Regions from separate parts of the Homo sapiens genome. Here regions 1, 2, 4, 5, 6 and 7 are each linked to region 3. The links are contacts of gene promoters, found by promoter capture Hi-C in human tissues and cell types (Jung and others, 2019). All regions are on one chromosome and are shown on one strand. The core of a region is centred on a gene start or on the middle of the fragment in contact, and the rest is flanking DNA. Distances in the headings are between cores, read along the strand shown.

Region 1 (2,815 bases), core at 15-2,514, 620 kb after region 3:
GGATGCTGGCCAGATGTAACCTGGCAGATGAGAAATGGAGTTTGCATTTAGTAGATCTTCTCGGCAACCCCACCCACCCACATCTCTGGCTCTCCTGCATCCCCCTTTGAAGCTTAAAGTCCAACAATCATTTGCAATTTGTGCTCACTTAGGTTTTGGACACTGGGATGAGAGTGGGATTGGATATCAGATGACAAGATGATGGAGGAGGCAGCATGAAACCCCCGGGAAAACAACAAGGGCTTTCCCACAGCTGCGTCTGAATCCTTAGTATCTGTGCATTGTTGCATAAATTATATAACTTTGCTATACTTCAAGTTTTAATTTGTAATACAAAGATTAAAATATCCATCTCATGGAACTGTTGTATGTGTAAAGTTGAGATACTATGTGGAGGACCTGGCATATTCATTGGCACATGCTTGCTGCGTAATAAATGCCAGTTCTATTATATTCACTTTGCTTATCTTACCTGTATTTCCCTTGGTTTTGGTCCAAACTTCACTTACCTGCACAGCTTTCCTGATACCTTTTGTTGAAGTTACAAAAATAAGGAAGAAAATTCTACTTTAAGTACCATTTGAGAGGACATTTGTTGGTGTTTGCTTTTTGGTTTTTTGATTTTTGGTCTTTGGTTACTTTATTTTCAGCCTGTTTAGAGATTTAATGTTTTAATTATTTTCTGTTGTAAAGACTGAAAATAACTCCCCAAGCGTTCAGCTGTTATAAGTCCCAAGCTGGACGGTTTAGTGGAGAAAAGTCAATCTGTTTTGCAATTTGACCTTGTGTAGATACAGCAAATCATCTGATTTATTGGCTCTTTCTTTCACAAGCTGCGCATCTTGATGCAGTGTTATGTTACTTTGTTTTCACCCTGTTCACCAGAAAAAAAGAAAAAAAGAAAGTCATCGTGGAATGAAAAAGAGGGATCTGATATTTTCTCAAAGTCAAGGACAGTATCCCTGAATTTAAAACAGCTCTCAGGTGCAGTTGCGCATGGCTGGCTGTTGTTCTTGCCCAAAGTTCCATAGTCATTCATGCTGGTCATGCTATCAAGCCTGAACCTAGCTTTCACAGTGAAAGATAGCCCGTGCCCTTGGGCCTCTCCCGAGTCTGCTTGAAGTGTGACCTACATCACATTAAAAGCCAGTTTGTGCCCAGGACTACATCATCCCACAAGAGGTCTGCAGGCTAAGGGCAAGAAGCCATGAAACTTTTCTTTTAAGCAATGGGCTTTACCACCTCATAGTGTTTACATTTTTAATAGGTGATGAGAGAATTTGCAATAGTCTGTGTACATCTTGACCCAAAGATGGAATGATTTGAAGAGACCCTGACCTTATATGAATAGTTGCTGTTCATGCCCCTGTACCTATTCATCACTGGAGAAGTCTGAGCTCATGTCTACTTTTTAATACACAAAGAGTCCATAAATTCAACAACGGTCCAACCATTCTTCTAGATCATTAAATTATATAGTGAGATTTTATCATACAAGTCTTGGCCTTCGAAATTCATCATTTTGAAGAAAGATTGTGGTTATATGTAGCTGTAAAATTATTCCCATATAAATATTCTACTTGGAAAGAAATGCAATATTCACTCTAACAGAAAACAGTGACAAACAGAATTAACTTTCTATTGTTTGACATGTGACAATGATCTTATCTTTCATTGTGAGAATAAAGGTAAAGGCTTCCTATTAATTAAAGGTTAGCAAGTATATTGCAGAAGCTTGAAGCTGAATTGCTAAATGGCTGATAAAATTATTAGTTAGGGAACCACAAAAGGTATCTTATTTTTGCCTGATGCCAAGGTGCTGCAAAAGCTTTTGCACAGCAAAGGAAAAGTCACAGATTTTAAAAGCACCGTAAAGGTGGACATAAATATGAAATGAAATCCTTGCATTGTTTTAGTTTTACTCCAGCAATTTATTGTCAGCTTGTCCTTTAAATGTGCTGCAAGATTTCACAATCATAAAAATCCTGAGTTCCAGAACAGACTAGAGTGGTCATACAGGTTGGCTTCACAGGTCTAGACAAGACTGGCCTGAAACTGTCTCAACACCCTAAGAACTCAAGGATAGAGAATCAACTTTGTCCCCTGGTATACCTGATTACTAGCTAGAAAATTTTTAAAGAGTGAGTCTTATCCCACAGCATAAAACCATTTTATGTATTTTAATTGTTCATTGTGGAGATGGAGCATGGCTTACACTGGATTAATCAAGTGACCTATAATATGCTGAGTGTTCTGCTGTCTGTGGGTATTAACAGATTTAACTGGACCAGAAAAAAATAAAGGTTATACCTGGTTGGCTAAAAATATTTGGAGCTCAAATTGCTTTGCATGGCATTCAAGATTCTTCAGAATCGGGCTCCAATTTACAAGGCTTCCGCTACATAAATTGTTCCCCATTCTCTGATGATGTTATGTACTTTTTCATCTCTGAATCATTATTTTACGTGCCCTGCTCTCTATGCCCTTCCCTCCCCATTAGCTGATGAATTCCTCTTCATTTGTCAAACTTCAAGTCACAAGTCACCTTGCCTTAGCAGCCTTCTTCAATTTTGCCATCCACTCCCCTGGCCTGGGAGAAGATATGACTCCCTTTATCTTCCAATGCACATTACCCAGTATCTACTCTCATCTCTCTACTCTCAAAGTACTTTGTTTAGAAGATATACTCCTTGAGTACAAGGTCCTTCTCTGTTTTCATCACTGCTCCAATTTAAAGGCCAAACAAAACACCTAACGACATGTAACAGGCACTTAATAAATGCTAGCCACATCATTCACATGGGTATTATTCTAC
Region 2 (3,040 bases), core at 458-2,957, 870 kb after region 3:
TTTTTTCAGATATAGGTGCTTAAAGGTAAACATTTCCCTTCAAGCACTGGTTACCTAAATTCCATAAATTTTAATATACTGGACTTTTACTTTGTGCCATTTCTTATATCTTTAAATTTCTTTTGTGATTTCTCCTTTAACCTATGCATTATTTAGAAGTTTGCTTGCTTTCCAAGTATTTGGCATTTTCCTTTGTTGTTAGTCTGGTTCTATAATGGATATTTAATTGTGATCAGATAAGACACTCTGTGTGATGACAGTCTTTTAAAATTTATTGAGATATCTTCTGACCTTTTTTCCTATCCTGAGGAATATTTCATGTGCACTTTAATAGGTGTTCTACAGTCATTTGGTAGAATATTTTGTATATGTTGGTTAGATAAAATTGATTGCTAGAATTGAGTTTTCCATACACCTACTGATTTTCTATCTAGCTCTTCTATTAATCTCTGAGATTAGCTGGTTTAAATATTCAACTGTTATTGCTAAGTTGTCTAATTCTAATTCTTTTCTCAAGTCTGTAGTTTTTTTTCTTTATGTATTTTGGAGCTCTGAGGTAGGTATGCATATATTTACAATTTTAAAATCATTTTAATATAATGAGCCTTTTATCATTATAAAGTAACCCTCTTTGCCTCTAGTAATATTTCCTGTTTTTTTAAATTTGATAATAATGTAGCCACTCTAGCACTTCTATGGTTACTGTTTACATGATTTATATTTTTAAATTATTTTCCTTCCAACCTGTATTTTAAAATCAAGCATATTTCTTTTTTAGACAGTGCATTGATGAATTTTTAAAACCTCATTCTGACATTCTGTGCTATTTAAGGGCAGAGTTTGGTACTTTCACATTTAATGTAATTATTGACATGGTTGGATTTATATCAGCTATTTTGCTACTTGTTTTCTATTTATCCCATGTCTTTCTTTTTCCTCTGTTTCTGATTTACTGCCAGCCTTTATGTTAAATAAATATTTTCAGTGTGCCATTTTCATACTTCTCTTCATTTTCTTAGTAGATACTATAAAGATTATAGTGTGCATCTGAAATTAGCACAGTATCTTTCAAAATAATACTAACAAATTTCTGATCAACTATTAAAACTTTGCTCTACTATATATACTTTTTCCTATACTTGCTCTTGTGTTATCATCACATGTATTATAGACAGACAGATAGATATAGATATATTACATATTTAACAATACAGTATTATAAACATACTTTATACAACCTTATGTCTTTTAAAGAAGTTAAGAAAAAAGAGAAAATACTTTACATTAAGTCTTATATATTTACCTACATATTTACAAAATTCCTTTAGTAATTTAAAAACAAATTTGATAATGCAAGTGTCCAAATGATGAATTATCTTAGCTTTTGTCTGGAGAGGTTTGTATTTCACCTTCATTAAGAAACAAAAACAAAAACAAAAACTTTTTTTTTTGGTTTAGAATCCCTGATTGACAAAGTTAGCTATTATATCTATTCTTATTCCCCTGTATTTTCTCTCGTTGCTTTTGAGATTTTTCTCTGTCTTTGGCTTTTAAGAATTTAACTGTGTTGTATCTAGGTGTGAATATTTTTGTGTTTTTTTTGGGAGGATTATCGGTGCTCCTTGCAGATTAATGATTTTCATCAAATTTGGACAGTTTTCAGCCATCACTTCTTGAAATATTTTTCTTCTCCTTTTTTTATCCTTTGCTGTTAGAAATAACATTACACCTAAATTGTTATACTCAAAGCTATTCCACAGGTATTTAGGACTCCCTTTATTTTTCTTCATTTTTTTTTCTCTGTGTTCTTTAAACGTGGTATTTTCTATTGATCTTTTTTATAGTTTGGTGACTTCTGTTGTATAAAATTTCTTATAGAGCCTCTCTGCTTAGTTTTTTTTATTACGGTTATAATTTTTATCTAAATTCTGGTAAAATATGGAAACTCGTATCCACTCCATCTTTCTCCTTCACTTTTATTTGTGTTATTGTTTTCACATGCAGTATTACATGTGTATATTCATGTTATAAACCCAACAAGGCACTGCCATAATTATTGCTTTAGATAACCTTACATTGTATCCTTATGTTGCTATATACAACCTGTATTTCCACTTGGTTCGTTTTTATAACTTCTGTTTCTTTATTGAGACAGCCGAGCCATTGAATAATTATTAACATACTTTCCTTTAATTCTTTATGTTCGGTTTCCTTTAATTCATTGAACACATTGAACCTGTCTGTTTTAAAGTCACTGTCTGACAAATCTAATACCGGTGACACTGAGAGACAACTTTTAGTGACAGGTTTTGTTCCTCTAAATATGATCACACTTTTTTGTCTCTTTGCACACCTTATAATTTTTATTTGAAGTCGAGACATTCTAGATAATATGTTGTGTCAGTTCTGGATTCTGAGTCCTTTTCTCTCTGAGGGTTGTTGTTTTCTTTTGTAACATGCATGAATTAAATCTGTGAATTCTGTCTCCCCTACCTGGTGTGGCCGCGAATGTCCCTGCTCTGCTTATTTTTAGAAATTATTCACTTATTTGTTCCTTTATTTATTATTTTTCAGCCTGAATCTTAGTGCTCTGGTAGTGTTCAGTCAACAATTGGCCAGAGATTATGCTCAAACACCTCCAGCTAAGAAGGCTCACTCTCTGTTGATGATATCTGTATGAAAGTGCAGAAATTCAGAGGAGGAGGAAATTATGGTTTATTCTAGTAGAGAAGAAAGATATTATGGAAGGAGGAGGGCTTGATATTTGTCTCAAATTATTATAGAATTTATATATATAGGCAGGGTGCAGTGGCTCACGCCTGTAATCCCAGCACTTTGGGATGCCAAGACAGGTGGATCGCCTGAGGTCAGGTCAGGAGTTCGAGACCAGCCTGGCCAACATGGTGAAACCTCTCCTCTAGTAGAAAAAAAAAAAAATAGCTGGGCATGGTGGTGGGCGCCTGTAATCCCAGCTACTTGGGAGGCTGAGGCAGGAGAATCGCTTGAGCCTGGGAGGCAGGGGTTGCATGAGCTGAAATTG
Region 3 (2,700 bases), core at 80-2,579:
GTCGATACTCAGAGAGCTTCTGTAGCCTCCTTCCTGGAGGCGAGGGCTGGTTCCCGCCTCTCCACCTTGTGCGGGAGACTACTTTGAGAACACCCAACAACTTCGCAGCCTAAGAGGAATGCACAGCTCACCACTTCCGCTAGATGGCGCTACTTCCCCTACTCCGCCCGCGAGACACCCAATTTATAAAATAAATACAACCCAACACCTCCCAAAACCACACCACATAATAGCAGCTCACAGGCTCCCATTAGAAATCTCAATTTGGGAGAACTGATTCTACCTCCGAGCAAGTCTAATACAATTACATTAATAAGACGCAATCCCGAATTGCACCCGAGCGTCCCCCACACCCGCCCTCCCATTGAATACACCTGTCCCCCATGCCCGGGCTTGTACCCTGGGTTGAGCTGCGGCGCGAGCCGGCGCTGAATCGTCGCCGTGCCCTCCCGTCCACTTAGGAAAGCCGGGGCGGCTTGGCAATGGGCATCCTCGGCCCTCAATCCAAGGTCCGCACCTTCCCGTACGCCGGCGCGCCGAGGCAAAGGGCCGCCGGGACGCGAGCCCACGCGGTGCACTGCGCCGACATCCCCGAGGGCAGGAGATGGCCAGGCAGCTCCGCAGCCGGGCGTCGAGCGGGAGGCGGGGGCCCGGGCGGCGCGGGCCAATGGGGGTTCACGGCGGGACAGTCGGGTGGCCGGCTCCGTCCGGGGCTCCGCGAGCCGGGCTGAGGGAAGGAGCTCCCAGCCCGCACACGGTGTAAGGGACGTGTGCCGGGTCTGCCCAACCACGCGCGCTGGCGGCTGCCCGGGGGAGAGTATTTTAGGAAAAAAGAACAAACACCAAACCACAAAAACTTTCCTGCTGCCAACAGCTAAAGCGATAGAGGCGCAGCAAAGCTCCAAATGTGGGCAAGATGGGAGCAAGATGAGACGCGGGGCTAAGGAAGACCAAAGCAGCGCCGTGGCCCCGGCATGTGTCGGCGGCGCCTCGGAGATGTCAGAGCCGGGTCTGCCCGGCTCCCGACCCGCGCTTACCTTGGCGGCTGCATGAGCCCCTGCGGCCCGCGGGGGGTGGCGCTGGCGGGGCTGCGGGAGAAGAGGGGGTGTCGGGGCGCCGCTCGTCTGCCCCGGGGCAAGGTGGGAGGGGCTCCGCTGGCGCTGGTCCCCGCCGCCCCGGCCGGCTCAGCAGCGGCCCGGGGAGCGCCTCCTGCTCCCGGGCTGCATGCCTGCGAGCGCCTGGCGGAGCCGGCCCGGGAGCGAACGGCCAGTGCTTCCCCGGCCCAGCGGCTCGGGCGGCGCAGCCAGCGCTCGGGAGACAACTGCAGAGTGGGGCGGCCGGGACCAGCCCCCTCCCTCGCCCGGCCCCCGCCCGCCGCCGAGCGCGGCGTCGCGAGGTTCGTTTGCGCGCCGAGGGGAGGGGGCGGGCCGGGCGCCCGGGCCGCGGGCGGGGGGCGCGCGCGGGCGGGGCCGGCAGGGAGGGGCGGGGAGGAGCGGGGTGCGGGCTCGCGTTGCCCCGCCCCGCCGCGGCCCCACCCTCCCGCATCAGCACCGGCTGGGTGGGTGCGGAGTGCGCCAGCGGCCAAGTCAAGACTCCTTGAATGCTCAGGTTAGGGGGCGCGGGCGGCAAGTGCGGCGACTCCCCGGGGCGCCTCCAACTTTCCGAATCGCCCGCAGGGTTGCGGTGGAGCGCACGGTGTCCTTCAGTTAGGCGGTGGTCGAGGGGAGTTCCTCTGAGATTTCTGGAGAAGGCGGTTACATCCAAGACAAATGCTGTTGCGCTCTGCGGAGACGCACCTTTGTTCTATAGAGATTTTGTTGTTGTTTAAGAATCTTCCTGAAAAAACTAATACATATGTATTACATGCTAACACACGCATACATTCTTGCGTAGAATTGTACATAACTCAGGAGTGTCTAGAGTGAAAAGACCGTATCGCACTCCCTCCCACGGCCGCGGCTCTCCCACGGCCGCGGCTCCCCCGCGGTAACCTTCGGTCAGGGTGTGCTCTGCCGCGGTTCTTTCCAGTCTCTGCGCTTTTACATGCACACGCACAGATTGCGAGTGGAATCTCCTGGGCTTTTCAAAAGAATGTTTTCAACATTAAGCGCATGCACACAGTGGCTTGAACACGGCCACGTCGGGAGCAGTAAATCCCCAGAGGCTCCGGGAGCCCAGGGAAGGACCCTTGCTGTGAAACAGCAAAGAGCCACCCAATCGCCATGTGTGGATCTGAAACCCCAGCTGGAGCGTGAAGTCGGTCTGGTTACACAGCTCAGGCCCAAATTAGCACTGCACGGTTAGAGAGATTTGCCAGTACATTCTAGACAGGGTTATGACCTTCCCCTTCTTACAGAACAAACTGTCTTGAATTTTGATATGATGAGAACTCTGGATTTGCAAAATGAAAAGGTATCGTCCGCATTAAAACACGATCGTTATTTATGCGTGTGGTCTTCAGAGATGTGGTTTTAACTCAATATTCTCCGTTTTATTTGTCAAGTGTATTTGTATAATCTATAGCTGGGATATAAATAAAATTAAGTGGTTTAGCAGGAAGGGATTGGGGATGGGTTTCTAGAATTAGCTCTGACCTTCGGCAAGTCATCTAGCTCTGCTGGGCCTCAGTTTCCTCATCTATGAATAGTAGGGTGTGTGTGTGTGTGTGTGTGTGTGTGTGTGTGTGTGTGTGTGTGGTCT
Region 4 (2,922 bases), core at 111-2,610, 750 kb after region 3:
AATGAACAATAAATTCATAGTTAAAATACTTTACAAAAAGACATTTAGAATAAACACATATCCATACACACACGAATCCCAAGGGAAATACTCTAGAAATGTGTAAGAAAATATGAAAGTCGAAATAGTTTTAAAATAGAAAATTTCTTAAGACAGAAACAACCCAAGACACAAATGAAAAGGTAAATAAGTTAAATCAAATGAAAAGCATCCCTATCAAAACAAAAACAAAGGAAAGAAGAGAAAGAAAGAAGTACATTATAATCAAATTTAAAAGACGAGGCTGGGAGAATGTATTTACAACACATGTAGCAGATTTAAGATCGTATCCACGCTATAGAAAGAATTTTTGTACAACCATCAGAAAAGGAGAAAGGGACTGGGCACAGTGGCTCATGCCTGTAATCCCAGGCATTACTCCCATTTTGGGAGGCTGACGCTGGTGGATTACCTGAGGTCAGGAGTTCGAGACAAGCCTGGCCAAGATGGTGAAACCCTGTCTCTACTCAAAATACAAAAATTAGCTGGATGTGATGGTGCATGCCTGTAATCCCAGCAACTTGGGAGGCTGAGGCAGGAGAATTGTTTGAACTCTGGAGGTGGAGGTTGTAGGGAACTGAGATCTTGCCACTGTACTCCAGCCTGGGCGACAGAGCAAGACTCTGTCTAAAAAAATTAAAATTAAAAAGAAGAAAAGGAGAAATAAAGTGATATTATAATTTGTTCATTGGGATGAATGTGTATATTAAAACATTTTTTAAAAACTTCATGATACTTTTAGGAAGGAAAATAGAGAAACGAGTTGTGGGAGGAATAAACTTCAACTTCATCCTTAATCTCCTATTTTTTTAATAGAAAGTGCTTGAAATAAAAATTGGCAAAATGTTAATATTTGTTAATTCTGGTACACAAGTAAATTTTACATTTTTTGTACTTTTTGTATTTTACTAAGTAATTCAGAATTTTAAGATTGTCAAGGAAACTATAAATGCACTAATTAAGTGGTTAATATTTGTGTATGTGTGTGTGTGTTTCTTTATTGCTAGATTTCATGCCAGTATTTTTTCCAAAGCAAGATTGACACATGATCCTTTGAATAAATGAACATTTCCATTTTAATTGACTATATTAGTCCTAATAAGTTAACATGTTAATGTGTGCTTTATGTACATAATTCTTCAGTTACAGGCAATAAATTACTGTTATGTTTTTACCATGCGCAATGAACAATCATAAGAAAATCAGGAGGTGGAATGTCATAACAAGATGCATATGCAAGATTGAAGAAAAAGGACAAATACAAAAAATAGGGCACAAATCATCATGACAGAGTAACCAATACCCCACTTTTTTCAAAAGAAAAGATTACTAGTGTGACAGGATTGCAAAATAAGTTCATTCCTTAGGTAAAATTGTGAAGAAGAGGAAGTCTGCATGGCCATTTGTGCAAATAAGGCATGTTGGGTAGTAAGTAGCAGAACACACACCTCAAATTGGCTTCAAATAGTGATGGCAAGCATTATTTACATCACAGAGGGGCAGACAATGCAGTGGCTGATCAGAGCTTTCCTGATACCATCATGCTTTTTAGAGGCCTCTGCTCTGCCAGCCTGGGAGTCATCTTCACCCTCAGGCTGGTAGACTCCAGTCTCTTAGGTCAGAATGGGATTAGAGACCCGTTCCTGAACCAGTCACACACAGCGGGTGAAACTGCTATGATTGGTTTAGACTTAGAGACTGGAATGGATGCTGGTGAGTCCCATTATTTCTGCCATGCTCTTCCCGGGGTTGTTTTTTCCCCTATGTTTCCTTGTGTTTATGCTCTTTCATTTGCTCAACGCCTTGTTTTTCTTCTTGCTATTAAAATTGAGGTGCAGATTCCCATGCCAGTTTATAGTCACATTTTAATTTGTGTCTTGTCAACAAAAGCATATTTGGAAAATATACTAATGGATGTCCAGCTTCAGTTACCAAGGTAGAATTGAGCAGTACTAGATAGTGAGGTTTGAAGTTATCTGATTTTCCTCCCATTCTTCCTTCCTCTGTCATTCTCTTGTAAGCAATATCATTGCAGAAAACTTGAGAAATACATATGCAAAGGAAAAGTAGAATTGCCCGTAATGTCACCACTCAGAGAGAGAAGCTTTATATTTCAATCTGTGTTCTTACAGTGAATTAAACCTTGGGAAATTCTGTATAAAACTTATTTAGAGAATTATGTTTGATGTTGATGAAAAAAGCCAAACTCTGTAAAATATTTGAAGAGGTTATCTGAGCCAATATGACTGACCATGGCGTGGGGTACAATCTTGAGAGGTCCTGAGAAAATGTGCCTGCGATGGTTGGGTTACAGCTTGGTTTTATACATTTTAGGGAAACTGAAGTTACAGGCAAAAACATAAATTAATACATGTAAGGTATACATTGGTTCAGCCCAGAAAGTGCAGATTGGCAATTGGCGGGGGTGGGGCTTACAGGTCACAGGTAATTTCAAAGATTTTCTGATTGGTAATTGCTTGAAAGAGTTAAGCTTTGTCGAAAAAGTTGAATTCAGTAGAAAGAAATGCTTGAGTTAAGATGGGGAAGGCTGTAGAAGCCAAGGTTCTTGTTACGTAGATGAAACCTCTAAGCAGCAGGCTTCAGAGAGAAAGGATGGTAAATGCCTTTCTTTGGACATTAAAAGGTTTTGGAATCTCAGTTAAATCTCTTCTGGATCCAGTAAAGACCTAGTAAGAGGAGATTCTATACAGAGGCTAATTTCTGCCACAAGAGAGGGCTTTGCAGGGCCATTTAAAAATATGTTAGAGAGGACGGGTGAGGTGGCTCAGCCTGTAATCCCAGCACTTTGGGAAGCCCAGGTGGGTAAATCATGAGGTCAGGAGCTCGAGATGAGCCTGGCCAACATAGTGAAACCCCGTCTCT
Region 5 (2,798 bases), core at 102-2,601, 720 kb after region 3:
ATCACTTGAGGTCAGGAGTTCGAGACCAGCCTGGCCAATATGGTGAAACACCCTCTCTATTAAAAATACAAAAATTAGCTTGGCATGGTGGCAGGCACCTGTAGTCCCAGCTACTCGGGAGACCGAGGCAGGAGAATCGCTTGAACCTGGGAGGTGGAGGTCGCAGTGAGCCCAGATCGCGCCACTGCACTCTAGCCTGGGCAACACAGAGAGACTCCGTTCCAAAAAAGAAAAACAAAACAAAACAAAACAAAAACAAAACCTAGCCAGGCATGGTGGCATGTGCCTGTAATCCCAGCTACTCAGGAGGCTGAGGCAGGAGAATTGCTTGAAACTAGGAGGTAGAGGTTGCACTGGGCCGAGATCGTGCCACTGCACTCCAGCCTGGGTAAGAGAGTGAGACTCCATCTCAAAAAAGACAAAAAAAAAAAAAAAAGAAAAAAACATTTGATCAGAATACCTGCATACATGTTTCTGCTCTGTTGCTCATTCCCTGTGTGACCTTAGGCAAGTCATTTAACCTCTCTGAGCCACAATTCCTTTTTCAAAAACAAGTGGAGATTGCAAGTCCCTCCTCAAAGTGTTTTTGTAGGATGAAAACCATACAGTTAAAGTAAAAAAGTAAAATATATTTTCAAATGTATTTAATTTTTTAAAATACATAAACTGAGGTAGAAAAAGATGTGAATACATCTCCTCTGGCTCCCTTACAGTTGACTCTTGAACAACTCAGGGATTAAGGCTGCTGATTCCCCTCAGTTCAAAATCCATGTATAACTTTTGACTTCCCAAAAACTTAACTAGTAATAGCCTGCTGTTGACCAGAAGCATTACTGATAATATAAACAGTTGATTAACACACATTTTGTATGTTGCATGTACTATATACCGTATTCTTTTTTTGAGACAGAGTCTTGCTCTGTTGCCCAGGCTGGAGTGCAATGGTGTGATCTCGGCTCACTGCAACTTCTGCCTCCCAGGTTCAAGTGATCCTCATGCCTCAGCCTCCCGAGTAGCTGGGATTACATGCACATGCCACCATGCCTGGCTAGTTTTTGTATTTTTAGTAGACATGGGGTTTCACCATGTTGGCCAGGCTGGTCTCAAACTCCTGACCTCAGGTGATCCGTCTGCCTTGGCCTCCCAAAGAGTTGGAATTACAGGTGTGAGCCACCACGCCCGGCCTATATACTGTATTCTTAAAATTAAAGTAAGCTAGATGACAGAAAATGTTATTAGGAAAATCATAAGGAAGAGAATATATATTTACAATTTATTAAGTGGAAGTGGATCATCATAAAGGTCTTCCATCTTCATCATCTTCATATGGAGTAGACTGAGGAAGAGGAGGGAGAGGAAGGGTTGCTTTTGCTGTTTCAAGGGTGGCAGAGGTGGAGGAAAATTTGCATATAAGTAGACCCACACAGTTCAAACCCATGCTGATCAAGAGTTAACTGTACCTGTCTTGTTTACTATAAAATGTGGTTCAGAGAATTAGAGCTGGAAAGATGCTTGGACACCCACCTGATTATATTCTCCATTCTACAGATGAGAATAGAGGCCAGGGTACAAATCTTCCCAACAGAATGAAGAGGTGGTTGTATGTTTTTTTATTTTTTTGTTTAATTTTTAACATTTTAATTTTATTATGTTATTTTTTATTGTATTATGTTATTTTTACTTCATTTCCTTTCTCTGAGCCAGGTCAGAAAGAATAAATTTATAAAGAACACTCATCACTAAGCTCCAATAAAAAAAAAAAAGGAAGAAAATGATTAAAAGAAAATGTACTGCCTTGGCAGAATCCTTAAAGACCATCTGGTTGCGATTTGGCATAGGGGGTCTAATAGGAGCTCCAATCCACAGTGTTGCTTGACCCTGGAATCATGGATTGTAGTTTTCGTGAGCCAATCACCTTTCGTTATCTATCTGCTCTGTATGGCCAGAGATTAGACTTGGTTCTTTCATATATTTCCTCCAATGTTAACCTCTCAGCATCTTTGTTATTATAATCTCAGTTTTTTTTTTTTTTTCCCAAAGGAGGAAAGTGAGGCTTAAAGAATTTTTGCAAGACTTACCCAAAGGCACTTAGACAATTAGTAGCAGGGATGGGCCACAACTGCTAGAGCAAGACTAAAATCAATTAATTTTATGTCAAAGAAAATAAATTACTAAAGACTTTCTAACTGCTAGGTCCTGCTCTGTGCTAGTCCAGTACTCATTCTGTCTCAAATTTTTTGAAATCATATCTCCCCATCAGCAGCAAGCTTTGTGAAAAAGAACAATCTTGGGATGAAATGATATAATTGCTGCAATTTTTTAGACCTAAGCCCATGGAAAGGTGACCTGAAAAGGCTGTCATTTGCCTTACTGCAGAATAGACTTGCTCAATCCTAAAGAACAGTTCTTCATTTTCTTAGGCAAATAGAAATCTCCAAATACAAATGTTCATAGTACTAAGAAAGGACTTAGAATATTACCTATATTGTTAGAATGTAAAAAAAATTCATCCTTCTAAAGTTAGATTAAGATTGCTTTATTGCAAGAGATACTTTCATTACAAAGTACCTGCAGCCTGTCCTACAAGAGTCATTTCTCACTATTTCTAGATGTATCCTGCAACATGATACTTATTGTTTCTGGTTACTTCCATACGCATTTGAATTTGCTTAATTCTTGCCTCTACATGGAATTCTCTCCATTTCCAACTTCAAGAAAAGAACTTCTTTTAAAGTTCCACTAAAATGCTCCTTCCTCTATGAAGTTCTTCTCAATCCTCTATGTTTCAGGAGGGGAAG
Region 6 (2,700 bases), core at 22-2,521, 550 kb after region 3:
TATCTTGGCTCTGACATCATCAGGATCACAGATAGTATATAACAGGGCATTTTTTTTTTTTTTGAGACAGAGTCTCGCTCTGTTGCCCAGGCTGGAGTGCAGTGGTGCGATCTTGGCTCACTGCAACCTCTGCCTCCCAGGTTCAAGCAATTCTCCTACCTCAGCCTTCTGAGTAGCTGGGACTACAGGGGCATGCCGCCACACCTGGCTAATTTTTTGTATTTTTAGTAGAGACAGGGTTTCACCATGTTAGCCACGATGGTCTCAATCTCCTGACCTCGTGATCCGCCCGCCTCGGCCTTCCAAAGTGCTGGGATTACAGGCGTGAGCCGCCGCGCCCGGCCTAACAGAGCTATTTTTATTTAGTGCTTCCTGTCCTAAGTCAGGCTTGCTTGTGTCAGAAAAATGCACCAAGCATTAGCTGGAGGTTTAACATTTTGCATGAAAAATACATTCTGGTTTAATAGAGAGCTTACAAGAAACTTACAGTTTTCCTTTTAGTTGTGAAGACAGAAAGGAGAAAGGGATTGACAACAGCTTTTGGACTATGTTGCTTACCTCCTCCTCCAACTATTTTTGTATGAAATTACTGTGAATCCTTCTTTCATGCATGTTTTGATCTGATATTGATCTGCTTCATGGGTATGCTTTTTTAAAGAACAGAGCTCCTTCAGAATCAACCCATATTTGTTCTTTCTTTCATCTGCTTAGTTGCACTGAAGATACACCAAAAACTAATTAGAGTTTGTTATGTGAAAAAAGTTCTAACAAGCTTGCCAACAACGGCATTGTCTAGTCTTATTGCAGACATGTCAGTGGCTGTACATGTGTGAAATGAACTCGATTGGGCTGGATTCCTCCCTGTCTGCCTATTCTTATCTTTGGACTGCATTCCCCGTCATACAACACACTAAAAGCCACTATCAAGGGCTTACTGTAATACCTGTGACACTTTCAGTGTCCTTTTGATGGTTCTTCAAATGCTCTGTTAGCAGGGATCAGCAAATCAGATTTAATAGCCTATGAGATTTATCCCAAGCAAATGAAATTTGACTGAAAAAAATCCTCTTCTTGGCTCTGAAGAATGAATGTGTGGCTGTGGGACACAGATTTTGCTGGGAGAAAGGGGCCCTGCGGTATCGTACCCAGAGCAGTTACAGCACCCGCTGCAGGAGCACGCATCAGTGTACAGTCTATATTAGAACGAAGAGTGGCTTAGGAGAGAAATGAGAGGTGAAAAACTGAAAACGCCAGTCCATCAATTACCATCAAGAAAGGGCTAATTTCAGAGTCCTTTCAAACATTTTTTTTGGGTAGTTGTTGTTTTAAAACCAATAGGTATTACTCCTTGGTATTGTTTGACTAAAGTAAGAATAGGGGAAAAATACCAAAAAAAAAAATCAGTTGTTGAGATTGTAGATACATATTTACACATTCATCCATTCAGTACAGGTATATTTAACACCTGCTATTTCCAGGTGCTGAAGGTCTTATAGTAAGTAAGACAGACAGGTCTCTACTTTCATGGAGTTGAGTCCACTGAGGAAGAAAAACAATGAGGAACAAATATACAATATTGGTTCAACCAGTATTTATAAATTAAATAAATATAAATTTTAGCATCAACTAGGGTGCTCTAAGTTATCTTATTTATACGTTTATTTGTATGTTGGTTGAACATACAAAAAAAGGTTGGCTGAACATACAAGTAAATGCATAAGTAAAACAATTTAGAGCACCTAGTAGATGCTAAATAAATAATTGTGAACTAAATGCTATAAGAAATAAAACCTTGATGTGATAAAGAAATTTAAGAGTAGGGAACAGATGTCACTCTCCAGAGCAGGTGGCTGCTGCCAAGGTGTCTGTTACTCATGTGTGTTTGTGGAACACCAACCATAAAATGAAAATAAAAAGCTGGGAAAAAGCCGATATTGCTGAAGAGCCCTTGATTAGCTGTAATCTCTTTTCAAAGATTAAGAACTTTCCTCTAACAAATGTCTTCATTCTTTTCTCAAGAAAGACAAACAGTAAGAAATTTTATTAAACACAGTCATACACATCAGGTTCTGCACATGTAAGAAGACCCTGTCTTCTGGGAGTTGAATCAGTTACACAAAATCATAATTGCAAAATAACAAATGAGAGCTGTACACAGGAGATGCAAAAAGAATTGAACACTCTCAAAAATTATAAATGTAGAACTGGGGTATACGTGAACTGTTGTCACAACCAACTTGTCAGGAAGGAATTACAGCTACTGGTGTAATAGTATAAATGCATCGTGCTCATAATCACATGAATCCAGAAGCCTAATGCATCTTTCCTAAAATATCAGGGAACTTCTGTAGCTTCTGGCAGTCAACAGCATCATAATGTACAAATTCATTTCCTCAAGGCAATAACGAAAGAATGGTCCAAACTTGAGGATCCTGATATTTCTTCCTAAGAATAAGTTGATGTAGCTGATATCTGGGCCTCAAGGTGCAGGGTTGGCCTGAACATTTGGGGCAAGAAGATAGAGTCCCACAATCCATATGTCTGATTATCAACAAGTTATATATTACAGTAACAAATTTGACAAATATGCCATCATTTTGATGAAATATGTGCGCAGCTATGTTTTTATTTGACTCAAAGTTGACAAAATATCCAATACAACTAAACTTAATTATTGCATGTATGTAGGTGTTGTTTTGA
Region 7 (2,893 bases), core at 339-2,838, 930 kb after region 3:
CTGTCCTTCTACCTGATCCTCTGTGATAAACTCTTCCTGCTCTGTGATGACATTCTTCTTCAGTGACCAGACATCCAGGGGTTGGGAGAAGCTACTCGGGAAGTTGCAAGAGTAGGGATTAGGCTGTACACTGGGAAGTAAGACTGTGGTGTGGTATGGAGCAGAAGGTTGCCGGGAGAAATCCTCAGGAGTGTAAAATGTGACATTTTCCTCCTTAAACCTGGGCTGGAGCAGTGTCAGGAGCAATCTGGCAGGATGCTGAAGAGCAGTGAGAGGAGGACGGGAGTACCGCCAACCTGACATGAGACCTTGATGTTGGGGCACCAGGGTCATTGAGACACAAGGAGTCTCTGTTTCATTTTTCTCCCCCCAGAGGGATTTGCACCCAACCATCTTGTGACTGCTTTTTTAATTCAGTTCAGTGAAAATGACCGTGCTTTTTCCTACTATCTCAACCAAAATTTGTATCCATGCCAGGCTGGGAAAGCATATACTTCCTGAATGAAAAGTGTGATCCAACCATTATGAGCCCCAGAGGGTCTTTGTGGGATTAGTCACTGAGTTGCAGTATGGCAGAGGTGTGGGGTCAATACCATTTCCACTGTGATATGACAATGACATTGAGGACTTGTCAAAGTCAAAGATCACCCACCGAGTTTGTAAATATGATTTAAAAGCTGAGAGAAATGATGACCATATGACAATTAGCAATAATCACTTGAGAATCTTCAGTATTCGGGATGCATTTATTTTCTTTTTAAAAAAGAAGGTAAATAATATCATGACATTATAAGTTCCATGAAGGAGGGAGTTTCATCTATGAATTTTTTATTGTTCACTGCTAAATGGTAGGTTTAGCCTGACACATAGTGGCTACACATACTCAAGAAATATACATCAAATGGATAAATGAATGAATGAATGAATGAAAAGTGTGTTTTTAGAGAGCACTTAAAATGAGAAAGTTTAACATTCACGGTGTGTCTAATAAAACCTGAATTGAATTGTAGCAAACATAATCCTGGCTGACATGAGAAATTTTACCAGATGCATATTATTTTATTTTGGGGGTTATGATTTACACATTAGTGTTGTATTAAAATGTAATATGAAGAAACATACAGAATTTAAATATGTTAATTCAAACTCAAATTATATGTATACACACATATACACAAGCATACATTACACATATATGTGATATATGAATTTTTTCCTTTTCATAATTAAGAAATGCCAAGCAATACTATTAAGAGACAATTTTGGATGTAAAATTCCCTAAAGCTATCCAATACAGAAGCAAAGGGTGAAACGGAGCTGCAGACTCAAATGGCTTGGCTCTGTATTTCAGGGGCAAATGAGGCTACATATTTAGAAGGAACTGTACCTGTATTAATTTTTTTCTCCATCCTGCTGGGCCTTTGTGGATTTTGCTCATGACTTCTGTTAACATGTGCTGGGCCAATAATGTTATAGATCATAGGACACATCCCCCATATTGTGGGGAATTTGCATCCCATGCTTTAATTACCCTTTGGTTTCTGAAGAGGTAAGGGCTGAATCCAGCAGTCCTTTCCTAACAGGCCTGTGGTTCAGGCCTGGCTTGGAAAGGGCCCCAGGGGCTGGCAGGCACTCCAGGCAAATTTTCCAGCAGCAGCACGGCCCCATTTGCCTCCTTCAACAGGTCTTCAGTTGGCTGTATTAGTTCATCGGCTTCAGACTTTGAATTGGCACAAATGCATTGTGTGGATGGGGCAGTCGCATTGACTGGCCTGGAACTAATTAAAAACTGGAATATTTTAGATCACTAGGAAGAGAGCATGGCCAGATTTGCAGGGATGGTGCAAGTGAACTGAAAGAGCAAATTAACCCAGCCCCTTGAGAAAGATTCCTGCTGCCCGACCTTAGGTAGCCTCAGCTGGGCTTGGGCATATCCCGGTGTGAGATGACCCCTGCAAACCTGACAGGTACTCAACCATCTCAGCTGCTTAGGAAACATTCTTTTTTTTTTTTTTTTCCTAAATATTCCTAGTGGCACCATGTTTTATGAAAAAGAGCAAGTTTGCCAAGCTTGTTAGCTTCAGGGAAAAGACATATCCAAGTGAGTGAAGGACTGTGAAGGGCATTTATAATGAGGGAAATTTACTGCCTGGTTGAGCGTCAGGGGCTGTGTTCTGAGGACTGGACTTCAGGCACACCCAGTGACCTCCCGCCACAGTGGGACACCATCCAGAGGACTTCCTTCTGACCTTTCCCCTCAGGCACGTCCTAAGGCACCTTGCTTGTCCTCTTTGTCACCACTTGCTATTTTGCATTCTGTCTGAACTATAAGAAACACACACTCACCTTGGCTAAGATGGAGTGTTGTCTTGCTGAGGACTTCACCATGGCTCGCCCGTAACTGCTGTCTCGCTCCAGGTTTGGGGAACACTTTAAGCTTGTTTTCAGCCTTAACAGTCTTAGCTCAGAGCCAAGAGTTGTGAATCCAAAAAATATCCATTGCTAGTTTTTGGTGTTTTGTTTTTATTTTTGTATTTTTTGATACCTACAATTTATTGGGCTGGTATGTATGTGCCCAGCACTGGGCTAAATTATGGAAGACACTAGTCCATTTAATCAACACAACAACAAAAAAGTAAAGAAATTAATATTGTTATTCAGCTTTTTATTTTAATTTTTAAAGTTGTGGTAAAGTAAACATAACATAATATTTACCATCTCAGCTATTCTTAGGTGTGCAGTTCAGTGGCATTAAGTACAATCACATGGTTGTACAAACATCACCTCCAACCATCTCCATAACTCTTTTTGTCTTGCAAACTTGATACCCATTAAACAACTTCCCACTCTTCCCTCCCACCAGATCATGACAACCACCATTCTACTTTCTATC

Evidence for each region. The method cuts DNA at HindIII sites, captures the fragments that hold promoters and counts their contacts. A contact is called where the count stands out against the background at its distance.
Region 1: a contact is called between a fragment that was not itself captured here and the fragment with the promoter of RGMA in region 3, in 1 of the 25 tissues and cell types used here (hippocampus).
Region 2: a fragment that was not itself captured here is called in contact with the fragment with the promoter of RGMA in region 3 in 1 of the 25 tissues and cell types used here (mesenchymal stem cells).
Region 4: a fragment that was not itself captured here is called in contact with the fragment with the promoter of RGMA in region 3 in 2 of the 25 tissues and cell types used here (H1 embryonic stem cells and dorsolateral prefrontal cortex).
Region 5: a fragment that was not itself captured here is called in contact with the fragment with the promoter of RGMA in region 3 in 1 of the 25 tissues and cell types used here (dorsolateral prefrontal cortex).
Region 6: a fragment that was not itself captured here is called in contact with the fragment with the promoter of RGMA in region 3 in 2 of the 25 tissues and cell types used here (aorta and stomach).
Region 7: a contact is called between a fragment that was not itself captured here and the fragment with the promoter of RGMA in region 3, in 1 of the 25 tissues and cell types used here (H1 embryonic stem cells).

The regions. Positions count from the first base shown.
Region 1 is chr15:93,707,876-93,710,690 of GRCh38, forward strand. All of the region lies in intron 5 of LOC107983974 (a long non-coding RNA gene), which reads left to right. Among named protein-coding and RNA genes, the nearest start is that of LINC02207, 150 kb to the right of the region's middle. The HindIII fragment of the contact is 3,561 bases long and covers 1-2,815 here.
Region 2 is chr15:93,959,219-93,962,258 of GRCh38, forward strand. The region is part of intron 2 of LINC01580 (long intergenic non-protein coding RNA 1580); the gene reads left to right. The region is part of intron 6 of LINC01581 (long intergenic non-protein coding RNA 1581); the gene reads right to left. Among named protein-coding and RNA genes, the nearest start is that of LINC01580, 60 kb to the left of the region's middle. The HindIII fragment of the contact is 4,793 bases long and covers 1-3,040 here.
Region 3 is chr15:93,087,882-93,090,581 of GRCh38, forward strand. It overlaps RGMA (repulsive guidance molecule BMP co-receptor a), which reads right to left and starts at 1,330. Exons shown (of 4, transcript NM_020211.3): 1 at 1,038-1,330. The coding sequence starts at 1,051. It overlaps LOC101927025 (a long non-coding RNA gene), which reads left to right and starts at 1,333. Exons shown (of 5, transcript XR_007064769.1): 1 at 1,333-1,396. The HindIII fragment of the contact is 13,871 bases long and covers 1-2,700 here.
Region 4 is chr15:93,833,963-93,836,884 of GRCh38, forward strand. No RefSeq gene overlaps it. Among named protein-coding and RNA genes, the nearest start is that of LINC02207, 21 kb to the right of the region's middle. The HindIII fragment of the contact is 3,321 bases long and covers 1-2,922 here.
Region 5 is chr15:93,807,879-93,810,676 of GRCh38, forward strand. No RefSeq gene overlaps it. Among named protein-coding and RNA genes, the nearest start is that of LINC02207, 47 kb to the right of the region's middle. The HindIII fragment of the contact is 5,514 bases long and covers 1-2,798 here.
Region 6 is chr15:93,641,490-93,644,189 of GRCh38, forward strand. The region is part of intron 5 of LOC107983974 (a long non-coding RNA gene); the gene reads left to right. Among named protein-coding and RNA genes, the nearest start is that of LINC02207, 210 kb to the right of the region's middle. The HindIII fragment of the contact is 6,025 bases long and covers 1-2,700 here.
Region 7 is chr15:94,022,024-94,024,916 of GRCh38, forward strand. All of the region lies in intron 2 of LINC01581 (long intergenic non-protein coding RNA 1581), which reads right to left. Among named protein-coding and RNA genes, the nearest start is that of LINC01581, 84 kb to the right of the region's middle. The HindIII fragment of the contact is 3,224 bases long and covers 1-2,893 here.